Regions from separate parts of the Homo sapiens genome. Here region 2 is linked to region 1. Evidence: promoter capture Hi-C in 16 types of primary human blood cells and fetal thymus (Javierre and others, 2016). All regions are on one chromosome and are shown on one strand. Each heading gives the region's core, a stretch centred on a gene start or on the middle of the fragment in contact. The rest is flanking DNA. Distances are from core to core; before and after follow the strand shown.

The links. The method cuts DNA at HindIII sites, captures the fragments that hold promoters and counts their contacts. A CHiCAGO score of 5 or more calls a contact.
Region 2: a fragment that was not itself captured here is called in contact with the fragment with the promoter of LRIG2 in region 1 in 2 of 17 cell types (activated CD4 T cells and neutrophils); the score reaches 5.5 in activated CD4 T cells.

Annotation. Positions count from the first base shown.
Region 1 is chr1:113,070,488-113,077,662 of GRCh38, forward strand. It overlaps LRIG2 (leucine rich repeats and immunoglobulin like domains 2), which reads left to right and starts at 2,711. Exons shown (of 18, transcript NM_014813.3): 1 at 2,711-3,158. The coding sequence starts at 2,920. LRIG2-DT (LRIG2 divergent transcript) reads right to left here and starts at 2,615. Exons shown (of 3, transcript NR_103777.1): 1 at 2,452-2,615. RefSeq lists enhancers at 2,182-2,431, 2,490-3,023, 2,682-2,991, 3,024-3,555, 3,172-3,231 and 1 more. The HindIII fragment of the contact is 20,110 bases long and covers 1-7,149 here.
Region 2 is chr1:112,725,556-112,732,730 of GRCh38, forward strand. It overlaps TAFA3 (TAFA chemokine like family member 3), which reads left to right. Exons shown (of 6, transcript NM_182759.3): 6 at 1,074-1,680. The coding sequence ends at 1,085. Among named protein-coding and RNA genes, the nearest start is that of TAFA3, 10 kb to the left of the region's middle. The HindIII fragment of the contact is 1,179 bases long and covers 4,015-5,193 here.

The sequences.
Region 1 (7,175 bases), core at 1,461-3,960:
CCCCGTCCGGGAGGGAGGTGGGGGGGGTCAGCCCCCCTGCCCGGCCAGCCGCCCCGTCCGGGAGGTGAGGGGCGCCTCTGCCCGGCCGCCCCTACTGGGAAGTGAGGAGCCCCTCTGCCCGGCCACCACCCCGTCTGGGAGGTGTGCCCAACAGCTCATTGAGAACGGGCCAGGATGACAATGGCGGCTTTGTGGAATAGAAAGGCGGGAAAGGTGGGGAAAAGATTGAGAAATCGGATGGTTGCCGTGTCTGTGTAGAAAGAAGTAGACATGGGAGACTTTTCATTTTGTTCTGCACTAAGAAAAATTCCTCTGCCTTGGGATCCTGTTGATCTGTGACCTTACCCCCAACCCTGTGCTCTCTGAAACATGTGCTGTGTCCACTCAGGGTTAAATGGATTAAGGGCGGTGCAAGATGTGCTTTGTTAAACAGATGCTTGAAGGCAGCATGCTCGTTAAGAGTCATCACCACTCCCTAATCTCAAGTACCCAGGGACACAAACACTGCGGAAGGCCGCAGGGTCCTCTGCCTAGGAAAACCAGAGACCTTTGTTCACTTGTTTATCTGCTGACCTTCCCTCCACTATTGTCCCATGACCCTGCCAAATCCCCCTCTGTGAGAAACACCCAAGAATTATCAATAAAAAAATAAATTAAAAAAAAAAAAAAAAAACACATATTTGCGGCTGGGTGTGGTGGCTCATGCTTGAAATCCCAGCACTCTGGGAGGCCGAGGCGGGCGGATCACCTAAGGTTGGGAGTTCGAGACCAGCCTGACCAACATGGAGAAACCCCATCTCTACTAAAACTACAAAATTAGCTGGGCGTGGTGGCGCATGACTGTAATCCCAGCTACTCAGGAGGCTGAGGCAGGAGAATCGCTTGAATCCAGGAGGCGGAGGTTGCGGTGAGCCGAGATTGTGCCATTGCACTCCAGCCTGGGCAACAATAATGAAATTTTGTCTCAAAAAAAAAACAAAAAAAACAAAAAAAACAAAAAAAACGTGTATTTGTGGCCAGTCACAGTGGCTCATGCCTGTAATCCCAGCACTTTGAGAGCCCGAGGTGGGTGGATCACCTGAGGTCAGGAGTTCGAGACCAGCCTGGCCAAAAAGGCAAAACCCCGTCTCTACTAAAAATACAAAAATTAGCCGGGCATGGTGGTGCACACCTGTAGTCCCAGCTACTAGGCAGGCTGAGGCAGGAGAATCGCTTGAATACGGCAGGCAGAGATTGCAGTGAGCCACTTACTGCGGAGGATACAGGTTAGAGAGCATTAATTTCTAATGGCCCCATTTGGTATAGTTTCATAGGAAAGCTCTGAAACTATAATGTAGAAAGGAACTAAACTGCCTCCTTTTTTTTTTTGTAAGGTTCCTGCCTATGCCGGATTTCTTACCAGAGTTTGTTAAGTCTGCTCAACAGCTAAGGGAAGAAGGCTAAGAGTAAGTTTCATTCCGCTGTCTTGGCTTTAAAAGTTTGGTTTGGACTGTAGCATTGGATATGGCCTTGTTTCCAATATATACTTCAATATTAAAAAAAAAAAACAGAAAAAGGTTTTTAAAAACATAATTATGACTCCATAATCTGCCATGGGAAAGATTGCTTTCAGTTACTTTCTATGAGAACCCTAACCTAGGCATTATCATTCTTTTTAACCTGCTCAGATTTTCAATTTATGTCAGAAAACCCATGTTAATGTCGAACCTGCCCCTGCCTCAAGAGTAACTTGGTTTAACCTCTTGGGGCTTGTTGCATCATCAGCAATAATTGTCTTGCCAATGTCACAGTCACTGAAGGAGCAAACAAGATAACAGATGCAAACGCCCTTTGAAAAGTTCACTACGTATAAGTGAACCATCACTATTATTCTCAAAGTCTTATTTACAACCTTGGATGGCTGAATGAGCATAAGATGGCCAGACTTCACTGTTCCTAGTAAGTTTTCCATAGCCTCTGCTTTAGGAGAAATAAATTTCCTCACATCCAGTCTTTGCTTTGTTGACTGCTCAACACCCTCTTGTCTCGCTTGCTTTTCTGAGAGTGACCTTGACAGCATCCCTCCAAAGAGAAGGGTATTTCCTTTATATAGACATGCAGGTGCAGTCCCACCAAAATTTATTGAACTCCAAGCTAGAACAAAAGGTGGAGGTGCACCGATGAAGAAACAGGGCCTCTGCCTTCAGGAGCTTACAAGGCCATTAACAGAGAGTGATATTGATCTTATGCAAATGGCAGTTGCCGCCTACTTGCAGAAGAGCAGGGGCTACAGCCAAGCAGCAGGGGGCAGAAGAGGCTCGAGCTCGGCTCTGGAGGCCGATCTGGCCAAAGCCAGGATAGAAGCTCCCGTGACCCATTCGTGTGTGCGACTTGGAAGGCAGCCCTTCTGCCACTCCCCTTTCTTAAAGCCCAGAGCAAATAAAAGATCCTTTTCTACTACAGTAGATATACCTGTAGTCAGGACTTTGAACTCACAGCTATTCGCCGCACCATTCCCTCTTAAGGAACTACTGCGCCCTCCAGCGGAAGAACAGCGGCGGAACTCCACAGCGGCAGCTAAAATCCCTGAACGCTTTAAAGTCCTTCTCCTCAAGATACTCGGCTGCGTCTGGCCCCGCCCCTCACTGAGTTCCGCCCCGGGCGCAACCTCATCTTATGGCACCGATTGGCTGGCCCCTGTGCGTGAGGACGTTGCGCCGTGGGGAGGGGCGGACGAGAGGTGTCCGTCAGGCCGTGTGTCCCAGGCCGTCGACCCCGCTGTCGCGCTGCGTCTGCTCCTTGCATGCCTTTAGATGGTACAGCCTTCAGCCGGGGCTTCGGGAGACAGTGCAGCCACCGAGCATCTCTGCTGAGCTTCTCCGCCGATCCTCCTTTTCTAGCAGGCAGCTCTTCTAGGCCACGTCCAGGTCGAGGGGGAAAATGGCGCCGGCGCCCCTAGGCGTCCCGGAGGAGCAGTTGCTGGGGTGTCGATCTAGAGTGCTTTCTCGGTTACTCTTCATTGCCCAGACCGCTCTCCTCCTGTTGCCCGCCGCCGGAGCAGGTCTCTGCCCCGCGCCCTGCTCCTGCCGCATTCCTCTCCTGGACTGCAGTCGCAGGAAATTGCCCGCACCGAGCTGGAGGGCGCTGTCGGGCTTGCTGCCCCCCGACACCGCTATCCTGTGAGTAGAGCGGCCAGGCAGAGTGACCAAAAGGAGGGGGAGCCTTCCCTCTACAGGGGGCAGGCAGGAGGGAGACAGGCCTGGTCGGAGGGTGTGGTCGAGAGCCTAAGCTCTGAAGGAAACTGCCGTCAGGATTTTATGAACTTTGTTTTAGGTGGTGGGAGCCTAAAAAAGCCGGTGTTAAGGTTTCTGGAGAATTGTATGAAGACGAGGGTTAAGATTCTTGGGGCCAAGGAGTCTGTGATTTCCTCAACTGGGGAGGAAATGGGGCGGGCATATTTAATGGTAAGGACTCACGGGTCCTGGGCACCAGCATTGACTTTGGATGGTTGGTGGGGCGGGGGGTGGGTTGAGCACGGAACAGTGCTTTCTGCTTATCTTGAGCTGCATGATTTGGTGTGTACCTCAGACTTAGTGGTCCTCAGGCACGTGATTTTATAATCACAATCGCCAAAGACCTATGAACTGTCTTTAGTCCTTAGTTCGCATGTTGGCTGATTTTGTGCTGCAGTTTTGATACTTAACAGGGTTGAAAAGTTCATTATGATGAATCAGGAGATCCTGTAATTCAGAATATCTTTGTAAGTAGCATTCTTGATCTAATTTAAACTTCACTGTAAAGAGGAGGAGTATTTTTTGCAGAACCATTTGATGCTTTGTTTTCAGCGCATCTTCTTGTGGCAAAGAACCCAAAAATCAGTTCTGCTTATTTATGTAGGTAAAGCAGGTACAACGGTTGAATGAATTCTGGAGTTTCCACTGTTGAGTTTTCACTTTGACAGGTCTTTATTAGACAGTGGAACTTGGAGGGCTCCTTAGTCTGAGTCAGCCTGGTGGTATTAGGAACAACAGCAGGTATTAAATGCTGCAATTATGGGGCTTCTTAACCACTAACATACAGTTATTTCTCGTCACTAACTGAGCAGCACGTTTATTAACTGACAGATTTCTGATGGAGTCGTTAAGAAAGAGTCATCAATGGGCCAGGCGCGGTGGCTCACGCCTGTAATCCCAGCACTTTGGGAGGCCGAGGCGGGCCGATCACGAGGTCAAGAGATCGAGACCATCCTGGCCAACATGGTGAAACCCCGTCTCTACTAAAAATACAAAAAAATTAGCTGGGTGTGGTGGTGTGCGCCTGTAGTCCCAGCTACTCGGGAGGCTGAGGCAGGAGAATCGCTTGAACCCGGGAGGTGGAGGTTGCAGTGAGCTGAGATCACGCCACTGCACTCCAGCCTGAAAACAGAGCGAGACTCCGTCTGGGGGGAGGGAGGGTCGGGGAGGAAGAGGGGCCGGGTGCGGTGGCTCACGCTTGTAATCCCAGCACTCTGGGAGGCTGAGGCGGGCTGATCACCTAAGGTTGGGAGTTCGAGACCAACCTGACCAACATGGAGAAACCCCATCTCTACTAAAAATGCAAAGTTAGCTGGGTGTGGTGGCGCGTGCCTGTAATACTAGCTACACCCTGAGGCAGGAGAATCACTTGAACCCGGGAGGGCGAGGTTGGAGTGAGCCGAGATCGTGCCATTGCACTCCAGCCTGGGCAACAAGAGTGAAACTCTGTCTCAAAAAAAAAAAGAGTCATCACTAAAAAAATAGGTTGAAGTGCAATTAAAATATGAGAGGCTGCTTGGATTTTTATTGGAAATAGAATACAAATAAGAGGTGTTGCGGAGTTTAAGAAGTATTTATATATTTGCAAATAGGTTAGCACAGATAGGAAAGAAAGCTACCTCATGTAGTCATTGAAAAAATTAACATAAATAATCAAATCTTTTAGTAAACATAGAACTGCAGTGTAGTAAGATGCTTTCTCTTTCATGGTAGTGACACCTGTAGTCACTTCTGGTTTTATTGACCCAAATTTAAAAACTCCTATCAGTGTGCAGTGTAGTGTCAGTTAAACCTAGCACAGCCTCTTTGTTATGCAGCAAGTGCCTTTTTCTAAGACATTCTTGGAAGAGCTACCTGATTATAACAATAAGTCTGGCACAGATTTGACAAAACAGCTTCATTTAGCTGTAATTGGAATGAATGTGGCCTATACTTTTTTTTTTTTTTTTTTTTGAGATGGAGTCGCGCTCTTGTTGCCCAGGCTGGAGTGCAATGGTGTGACCTCGGCTCCCTGCAACCTCTGCTTCCCAGGTTCAAGCGATTCTCCTGCCTCAGCCTCCCAAGTAGCTGGGATTACAGGCGTGCGCTACCATGCCTGGCTAATTTTTCATATTTTTAGTAGAGGTGGGGTTTCACCATGTTGGCCAGTCTGGTCTTAAACTCCTGATGTCAGGTGATCCACCCACCTCAGCCTCCCAAAGTGCTGGGGTTACAAGCATGAGCCACCAAGCCCGGCCTGGCCTACTTTTTTTTTTTTTTTATTTAAGAGAGAGTCTTGCTCTGTCACCCAGGCTGGAGTGCAGTGGCACGATCTCGGCTCAGTGCAGCCTCTGCCTCCTGGGTTCCAGTGATTCTCCTGCCTCAGACTCCCAGGTAGCTGGGATTACAGACTTGAGCCAGTATGCCCACCTAATTTTTGTATTTTCAGTAGAGACGGGGTTTCACCATGTTGGCCAGGCTGGTCTTGAACTCCTGACCTCAGGTGATCTGCCCACCTTGGCCTCCCAAAGTGCTAGGATTACAGGCACGAGCCACTGCGCTTGGCCACAGCCGGGCCTACATTTAAGATTCTCCGTTGGTTGGTAAACATTTAGAAGTAATTTTATGTAAGATATATTTTTGTGTTAAGGTTTGATTTTTGTTTAATCAAGACCAATTGCCTAGAGCCAAGTGACATTCAGAATTTTTAATGTCCTATAATGAAATGACATTTTCAGTTGAAGTGAAATGACTTAGAGAACAATTCAGTTGTAGAAATGTAATTGGATGGAAGTCTTACATTGGTAGAACTCTTAGAATATTAAAAGATAGTACCGTACTATTTTAAATTGAGAAATGAAACATTCTTCAGCAGTTGCCTTTAGCTATAAAACCACCCAGTACATTTGGGTTTCTTTATGTAATTTTGAATGTTGAAATACATGTAATGCTTTAAATATATTAGGGATTCAAATATATGCTCAAACTTGTGACCATCAAAATGATTATGGACAAAATTCATTAATACTGATTTTTGGAAACATACTCAGATACTGTCTTTATGCTTCTCTGTATGAGAAACTCTCTAGAATATTATTTGATCATTCAGAGCTTGACTGGGTTCTCTGTGGGTATAGAGCTCTGTTTCACATTATTCTGATTACACACACATACACAGCATTGAAAGACTAGGTTTATGACTCAACTTCTTATTTTGCAAAGTAACTTTGTTAGAACCCCTTTCCCCCAATGATGTGTTGTCTTGGTCATTTCATGATAGTACCAAAACATTAAGAAGTATGTATTTTTAGGGTTAAGGACGCTTCTATAGATTATATAGATTTAGCTTTATGAAATAAAAGTAACCTTTTCCTTACTGTTTTATTTCACTGTAGACTGTTAAATTTTTTTTCTTTTTTTTTTTGAGATGGAGTTTCTCACTTTCGCCCAGGCTGGAGTGAAGCAGCCTGATCTCGGCTCACTGCAACCTCTGTCGCCCGGGTTCAAGTGATTCTCCTGCCTCAGCTTCCCGAGTAGGGATTATAGGTGCCCTCCACCATGCCCAGCTAATTTTTGTATTTTTAGTAGAGAAGGGGTTTTGCCATGTTGGCCAGGCTGGTGTCGAACTCCTGACCTCAGGTGATCCGCCCACCTTGGCCTCCCAAAGTGCCAGGATTACAGGCATTAGCCACTGTGCCTGGCCAGCTGCTAAAAATTTTGTCTTGGATCAGTATTGGGAACCAGTGCTGTACTTGATTAATTTATTGAATTATATATATACTTAGTTACCTATAGTTTTTTAGTTCTTTCTATTTTCATTATAATTGTTTAAAATTTGTTTGCATTTGTTTCTTTATAATAGTTGTGAACAGATTCGTTTTTTAGCATAGAGGACATAAGCTTATGTTGAATAGCTCTAGGGAA
Region 2 (7,175 bases), core at 3,354-5,853, 340 kb before region 1:
ACTCCCTACAGTTCATACCTACCCTCCTCTAGTCAGATTTCTCTGTCCACTGTCACAGCACCCAAGAGGATTATTATTTTCATGGTTTGCTGCCTGCTCCACAGAACAAGGGGTAATTAAATTTTTTATCAAACTCGTTAGCAGCTCCATGTGTGTCATGGCTAATCAGCCGCATTGCTCTGCCGTCACCATTGGTACAGAAGAGTGACACTGCAGGGCAAGCCAGGGTTCTGCCTTTGGCTTTCCTTCCCTCCCACCACACACAGCAAACAAGCAAACACATAAGAAAATAGAGAAGGAGGGCTGGGTGCGGTGGCTCATGCCTGTAATCCCAGCACTTTGGGAGACAGAGGTGGGTGAATCAAGAGGTCAGGAGTTCAAGACCAACCTGGTCAACATGGTGAAAACCCGTCTCTACTAAAAATACAAAAATTAGCTGGGCATAATGGCACACGCCTGTAATCCCAGCTACTTGGGAGGCTGAGGCAGGAGAATTGCTTGAACCTAGGAGGCAGAAGTTGCGGTAAGCAGAGATCATGCCACTGCACTCCAGTCTGGGCGACAGAGTGAGACTCCATCTCAAAAAAAGAAAAAAAGAAAAAAAAATAGAGAAGGAAAGGCAGCCTTTGGCTTCTGAAGAGAGCAACCATTTTCACAGAGCACACAACAAAAGGAGCTACAGCAAGAAAAAGTTTGGCTCTAAAGTAGAGCATCCTCTCTCTATCCGGAGGCAGGGATGAGGGACAGCCATTCTGAGTATATTTAAGATCAGAAGAGAATGAGACCCACTACAGAGCTTGTGACATTTGTCACCATGTTATAGGTTTGGGTTTGTGGCCTGTAAGGAAGTGCTTGCAATTTGGGTAGCTACTCTGAAGCAAACAGTGGGGAGGCTTGTCTGACGTATGTTTGCATGGGTCACCAGGCCATGCTTTCCCATTCCGGCCTGCTTTAGGGTGAGAGGATTGGCAGCAATGTCCTCTAAGTGACCTGCATATTCTGGGTAGTCTCTGGCATGCTGGAATGGAATAGGCATTCCCTTCTCTAACCTTACCCTCTCGCTTCTTCACCAGGTCACACGATAGCTCTTGGGGGTCACGGCCTGGACAAGAAAGGCTTGACTGAGCCGTGAACTGAAGAATGGTATCCAGTCATCAGCCAGGAAAGATGGGGATTCACTTACATGCCTCATGTCAAATGCAGCATCAGTCTTTCCGGGGCATTTCAGTTAAGCTGCTCAGCAGATATGGATGGATCTGCAATCACATACCTAATGTGGAGCTGGGCTTTTCTGGAGACACGAAGGTCAACACACAATTCCTGCCCTTAAGGAATGTCCAGTTGAATTGGAGAGTTGATGACAGACAATTTAGATAATTTAGGTTAAAGTACTTGATACCAGACTGCGGCTTCTGGGCCACATGCTATGGCATGATGGGGGTTTGGGAATGAGATTCCCACAGTTCTTCAGATACCCTGTGGCCACAGGGCATAGAAACAAGAGGTCACATTCAGCACCCACCACCTCCCTCTTTCGCATCAGTTCTGAATCCCCAGCAAGCTGTTAACATGTTGCAGGAAAACACTCTCCCCTTATGCCAGACCAGCAGTATCTCATTTGGATGGGATTGGATTGACTTGCGGAAGGAAAGTAAAAATAAAGCCAAATAACTTCCCAAATCTTTGGCACAGGTATGGGCCATTCATTGGGTATGGGATGGACAGGACTTTAAAATCATCTCCATCCAAGCACCTCAGGTTTTTGTTTGTTTGCTTATTTTAACAGATGAGGAAGCAGCTCCAGAGAGGTGAGGCAGTTTGCCCAAGATCTCATAGCCTGGGCTCCCAGACCTCTAAGACTGATGACTTTCCACTAGCCTGAATAATAGGATTCCAACGTAGGCCTCCCATGTTAATTTTATGTCAAGTTACTGGAACCAGCAAAGTACAGGCTGGACAGCAGCAACATTTTTCTTGGGAGATGCTAGAGCAGAGACTTTTACTAAGGTCACTGTTCTCCTGTCTGAAATAATCCAGAATATCCACACACCGGGATGTGGGACCATCTGGTCTCCACTCTACTCTCATCCTCCAAATTTCAAGCAGGCCTTATGACACCCAGAGGTCACTCAACTCAGTTACAGCTGGGGCTCAGCTGGCATCTCCATTGCCCACTCTGACCCATCTCTTCTGGGGTCTTTGGGCTATGATTCTCAGAAGGTCTGGCTCCAGGAGAAATTCTGGGTGGGATGTAGAACTGGTTAGAGTCTTCTCTTTTCAAAGGCCCCTGCTGGGCAGCAGGGGTGGAAGGCTAGAGCCTCCGTTTAGAATTAAAGGTCAGTGCAGTCAGGCTGACACTAGATGGCTCAGGGATGACACATAGGCTTCAGGGACTCAGAGGCATGGGCTACTTAGATATCTCATCAGTAAGAGAATTGCAGCCTCTGAGACTGTGGGTGTTGAGATCACCAAGGCCTTAGGGAGGGGGGTGTCAGTAGAGACCCACCTGGACGATGCTGAATTCTGACCCTCAGAAAGACAAATCAGATGATAGTTTGTGGCTGAGTCTCAGCTTCTCCCTCCCTCCCTGCTCAGTAGAACCAAGACTGATATTCCCCTTTTCTTGCCCTACTCCAGTTTATTTTCTTGTTTTTGACAATGGGGTGAACAATGGTGCCAGCTTCTTACTAGAGTGTAAATATCAGAACTCACAACTCAGAATCTCTGCCGATGGTGGGCTCATGGGGTGGGGTAGGTAGGGAGTTGGTCAAAGATCGTCCCCTCTCCCCTCTCCCCTCTCCCCTCTCCCCTCTCCCCTCTCCCCTCTCCCCTCTTCCCTCTTCCCTCTTCCCTCTCCTGCCATGATCTCAGCTCGCTGCAACCTCCCTGCCTCGGACTCCCGTGATTGGCCTGCCGAGTGCCTGGGATTGCAGGCACGCGCCGCCACACCTGACTGGTTTTTGTATTTTTGGTGGAGACGGGGTTTCGCCGTGTTGACTGGGCTAGTCTCCAGCTCCTGACCTCGAGTGATCTGCCCGCCTTGGCCTCCCGAGGTGCTGGGATTGCAGACGGAGTCTCGCTCACTCAGTGCTCAATGTTGCCCAGGCTGGAGTGCAGTGGCGTGATCTCGGCTCGCTACAACCTTCACCTCCCAGCCGCCTGGCTTGGCCTCCCAAAGTGCTAAGATTACAGCCTCTGCCTGGCCGCCACCCCATCTGGGAAGTGAGGAGCGCCTCTGCCCGGCCGCCGCCCCGTCTAGGAAGTGAGGAGCGCCTCTGCCTGGCCGCTGTGCAATCTTCCAAGTGTGAAGTGACAGCCTTTCTGCAGGTGTACCCAACAGCTCCGAAGAGACAGTGACCATCGAGAACAGGCCATGATGACGATGGCGGTTTTGTCGAAAAGAAAAGGGGGAAATGTTGGGAAAAGAAAGAGAGGTCAGATTGTTACTGTGTCTGTGTAGAAAGAAGTAGACATAGGAGACTCCATTTTGTTCTGTACTAAGTAAAATTCTTCTGCCTTGGGATGCTGTTAATCTATAACCTTACCCCCAACCCTGTGCTCTCTGAAACATGTGCTGTGTCAACTCAGGGTTAAATGGATTAAGGGCGGTGCAAGATGTGCTTTGTTAAACAGATGCTTGAAGGCAGCATGCTCTTTTAAGAGTCATCACAACTCCCTAATCTTAAGTACCCAGGGACACAAACACTGCAGAAGGAAAGCCGCAGGGACCTCTGCCTAGGAAAACCAGAGACCTTTGTTCACATGTTTATCTGCTGACCTTCTCTCCACTATTTTCCTATGACCCTGCCACATCCCCCTCTCCGAGAAACACCCAAGAATGATCAATAAATACTAAAATAAATAAATAAATAAATAAAATAAAATAGTGGCTAGACAGAAAAAAAAAAAGAAGAAGATCGTCATTACCTCCTTTAAGGTTGGAGGATGGAGGGTGGGGATGGATTAAGGGATTGGCAAACATTTTCTGGAAAAGGCCAGATAGTAAATATTTCAAGCTTGGCAGCTCACATACAGTCTCTGTTGCATACTCTTTGTTTTTATTGTTGATTTTTTGTTTGTTTGTTTGTTTCATTTTGTTTTAAAATATCTTTAATATACAAAAGCTAGTCTTATTAATAGCTCAAGTCTTAGCTGTATAGAAACAGAATCTGGGTCTGTTTCAGAAGGATGCCAATCTGATGAACCTTTGAAGGCAGGCCATCTCTGCAGTGTGGGACTGCCTCCCAGCCTCCTTGCCTGACTTCTGTGCAATGGGAACCTGAGCATGAGGGCTGGGTCAGGTTTTGTTTTTCTCCTAATGCTTCTTGAGAGATTGGTGAGTGAATTATTTAGGCTACAAATGAGACAGCTTTAGCAGAGTCAGACAATAACAGCCTGTTCTCCTGGAGGCCAGAATAGGGGCTTTTCTCCAGTCATTCTGCACCCTCAAGACTGTGTCCAGGAAGGAGGGAGAGGGCTCGAGCCCCCTGCCCATCTGCTGCATCCACAAGCTGGTGGGCTCTGAGCTGGGGATTGAGCCTGAGAGCAGGGATCATGCTATACAAACTCTCTCCTGAGTTGCCAACCACTGCCAGCCTCTGCCTCAGCCAAAGTCTGGGTTCTGCAACCTTCCCTGACCTCCCTCACCCCTGCTACAGAGAAGACCTCTTTCCTTTGACACATGCTGGAATTTGCTAACTCCTAATTCATTTTTTTTAACTCCTCAAGCCTTCATTTCCTCCTTACCTTTTCATATATTTTTTTGGTGGGCCTTGAGGGGTATCTTTTATATAGCCAGAAGACCCCTACATAGGAGGGTCTGATGGAGAAGGGAAAGTGTCCCACCTCCCCCACAATAGCATCCTAGGGTCCTGTTTCCAACTGAATCAATATTTATGTGCGTTTTTTAGCTACAGTTTAAAAATGCAAATTAATTTTCCTGGAACATAGGGTTCCTGGAGTCATTTATCTTCCTCTTCTCCCCTTACTGGATTGGAATCTCAGTCCCTGAAGTTAGCTGGTACCCACACTGTCCTCAGCTGTGAAGGCCTTAGGAAGGTTACCAACCACAGGAGATCATGTGGCTAACTTCTGTTGGCATCCTAGCAGTTTCATTGAGGCCTATGAGTGACATCCTAATTAACGGTCCCCAGACAGTTGCCTGGATTGAGGCTGCAACTTCCTAAAATCACAAGCTTACAGCTAGAAGGGATTTTAATGTTTTCTTTCTTTCTTTTTTTTTTTTTTTTTTTTTTTTTTTTTTTTTTTTGAGACAGTGTCTCCCTCTGTTGCCCAGGCTGGAGTACAGTGGCATAATCATGGCTTACTGCAGCCTTGGCCTCTTGGGCTCAAGCAATCCTCTCACCTCAGCTTCCTGAGTAGCTGGCACTAATGGCATGTGCTGCCACATCCTTTTTTTTTTTTTTGTAGAATAGAGACAGGGTCTTCCTATGTTGCCCAGACTGGTCTTGTCTTGAACGTCCGGCCTCGAGCAATCCTCCTGCCTCAGCCTCCCAAAGTGCTGCGATTACAGGTGTGAGGCACCACACCCAGCTTGCAAGGGATTTTAGAGACCAGTTAGCCAACTCCCTCATTTGACAGAAAAGGGAGGCTCAGAGAGGCTAGGTGATTTGTCACATAGCAAGCTGTTGATGTGTCCTGTCCAGTGATCCAGACGGTGTTCTTTCTACTACTACACATCAAGTTTAGATGAGGAACCTGAAAAGAAGCTGGGATTTTAACAAGGATGAATGTGAAAGTGTCCCATTCTAAAGTCAATCAACCTTGCGAGTGCAAGGGAACAGAATGAAGAATGGGAAACATGGAGAGATATATACACAGAAGGAGGGCAGGAGGAACAAAAAAGAGGGATTGAGATCACTCATTCAGAAGAACACAATGCACAGCACAAAATAATAAGAACAGAACTGATGCCACATCCAAAACAATTGATTTTTATCCTTTCTCAAGGAGACAGAATGGAGCCCCTGTTAACCTTAGAGAGATCAGCGAAGCCACTTGGATGGCTTCTGGGTTCTTCAGGCTGCATACTAAAGCCCATGGGCTAAATCTGGCCTGCTGCCTTTTTGTAAATAAAGTTTTATTGGAACTTAACTATGCTTATTTGTGTCTTCCTGTCTGACTATTTTTATACTAAACAGCAGAGTTGAGTCATTTTGAAGAGCCCATATGGATCACAAAGTCTAAAATATTTATCTAATCCTTTGTTTTTTGTTTTTGAGATAGAGTTTTGCTCTTGTTGCCCAGGCTGGAGTGCAGTGGTGCAATCTTGGCTCACTGCAACCTCCGCCTCCCGGGTTCAAGCGATTCTCCTGTCTCAGCCTCCCAAGTAGCAGGGATTACAGGTACACGCTACCACACCTGGCTAATTTTTGTATTTTTAGTAGAGATGGGGTTTCATCATATTGGTCAGGCTAGTCTCGAACTCCTGACCTCAGGTGATCCACCTGCCTTGGCCTCCCAAAGTGCTGGGATTACAGGCATGAGCCACCACGCCCAGCCCATTATCTGAGCCTTTGTACAAAAATTTTGCCAACTGATGCCTTGGTGTTTTAGTTGAATCTTTCTCAACATACTTTTGCAATCTGGAAATGATGACTCTGCATTGTTTTCCTGAGTTTAGGGATATATATACATATATATATTTGAGGCTGTGCCTCTGCCTGCTTTAATCCCTTCCAGTGCCACCTGTGATATCTAACAAGCAAAGAAATGAAGACGTAAAGACTAAGAAGCCAAGAGAAAGACTTCAGGACAGATGCTTCCCTAATATGCTGTCACACCCTAGATCAGTTCAGTTCATATTTTCCAGGTTCATGTAACTTCTGCTTTTAAGCTTAAGGAAAATAACTGCATGTGCACCCATGTGTGAAGATGTAATTGTGTGTGCATGTATGCTGCTGGTGTTTCTTTTTTTTTTTTTGAGACGGAGTCTCGCTCTATTGCCCAGGCTGGAGTGCAGTGGCGCTATCTCAGCTCACTGCAAGCTCCGCCTCCTGGGTTCATGCCATTCTCCTGCCTCAGCCTCCCGAGTAGCTGGGACTACAGGCGCCCACCACCGCGCCCGGCTAATTTTTTTTTTGTATTTTTAGTAGAGACGGGGTTTCACCGTGTTAGCCAGGATGGTCTCGATCTCCTGACCTCGTGATCCGCCC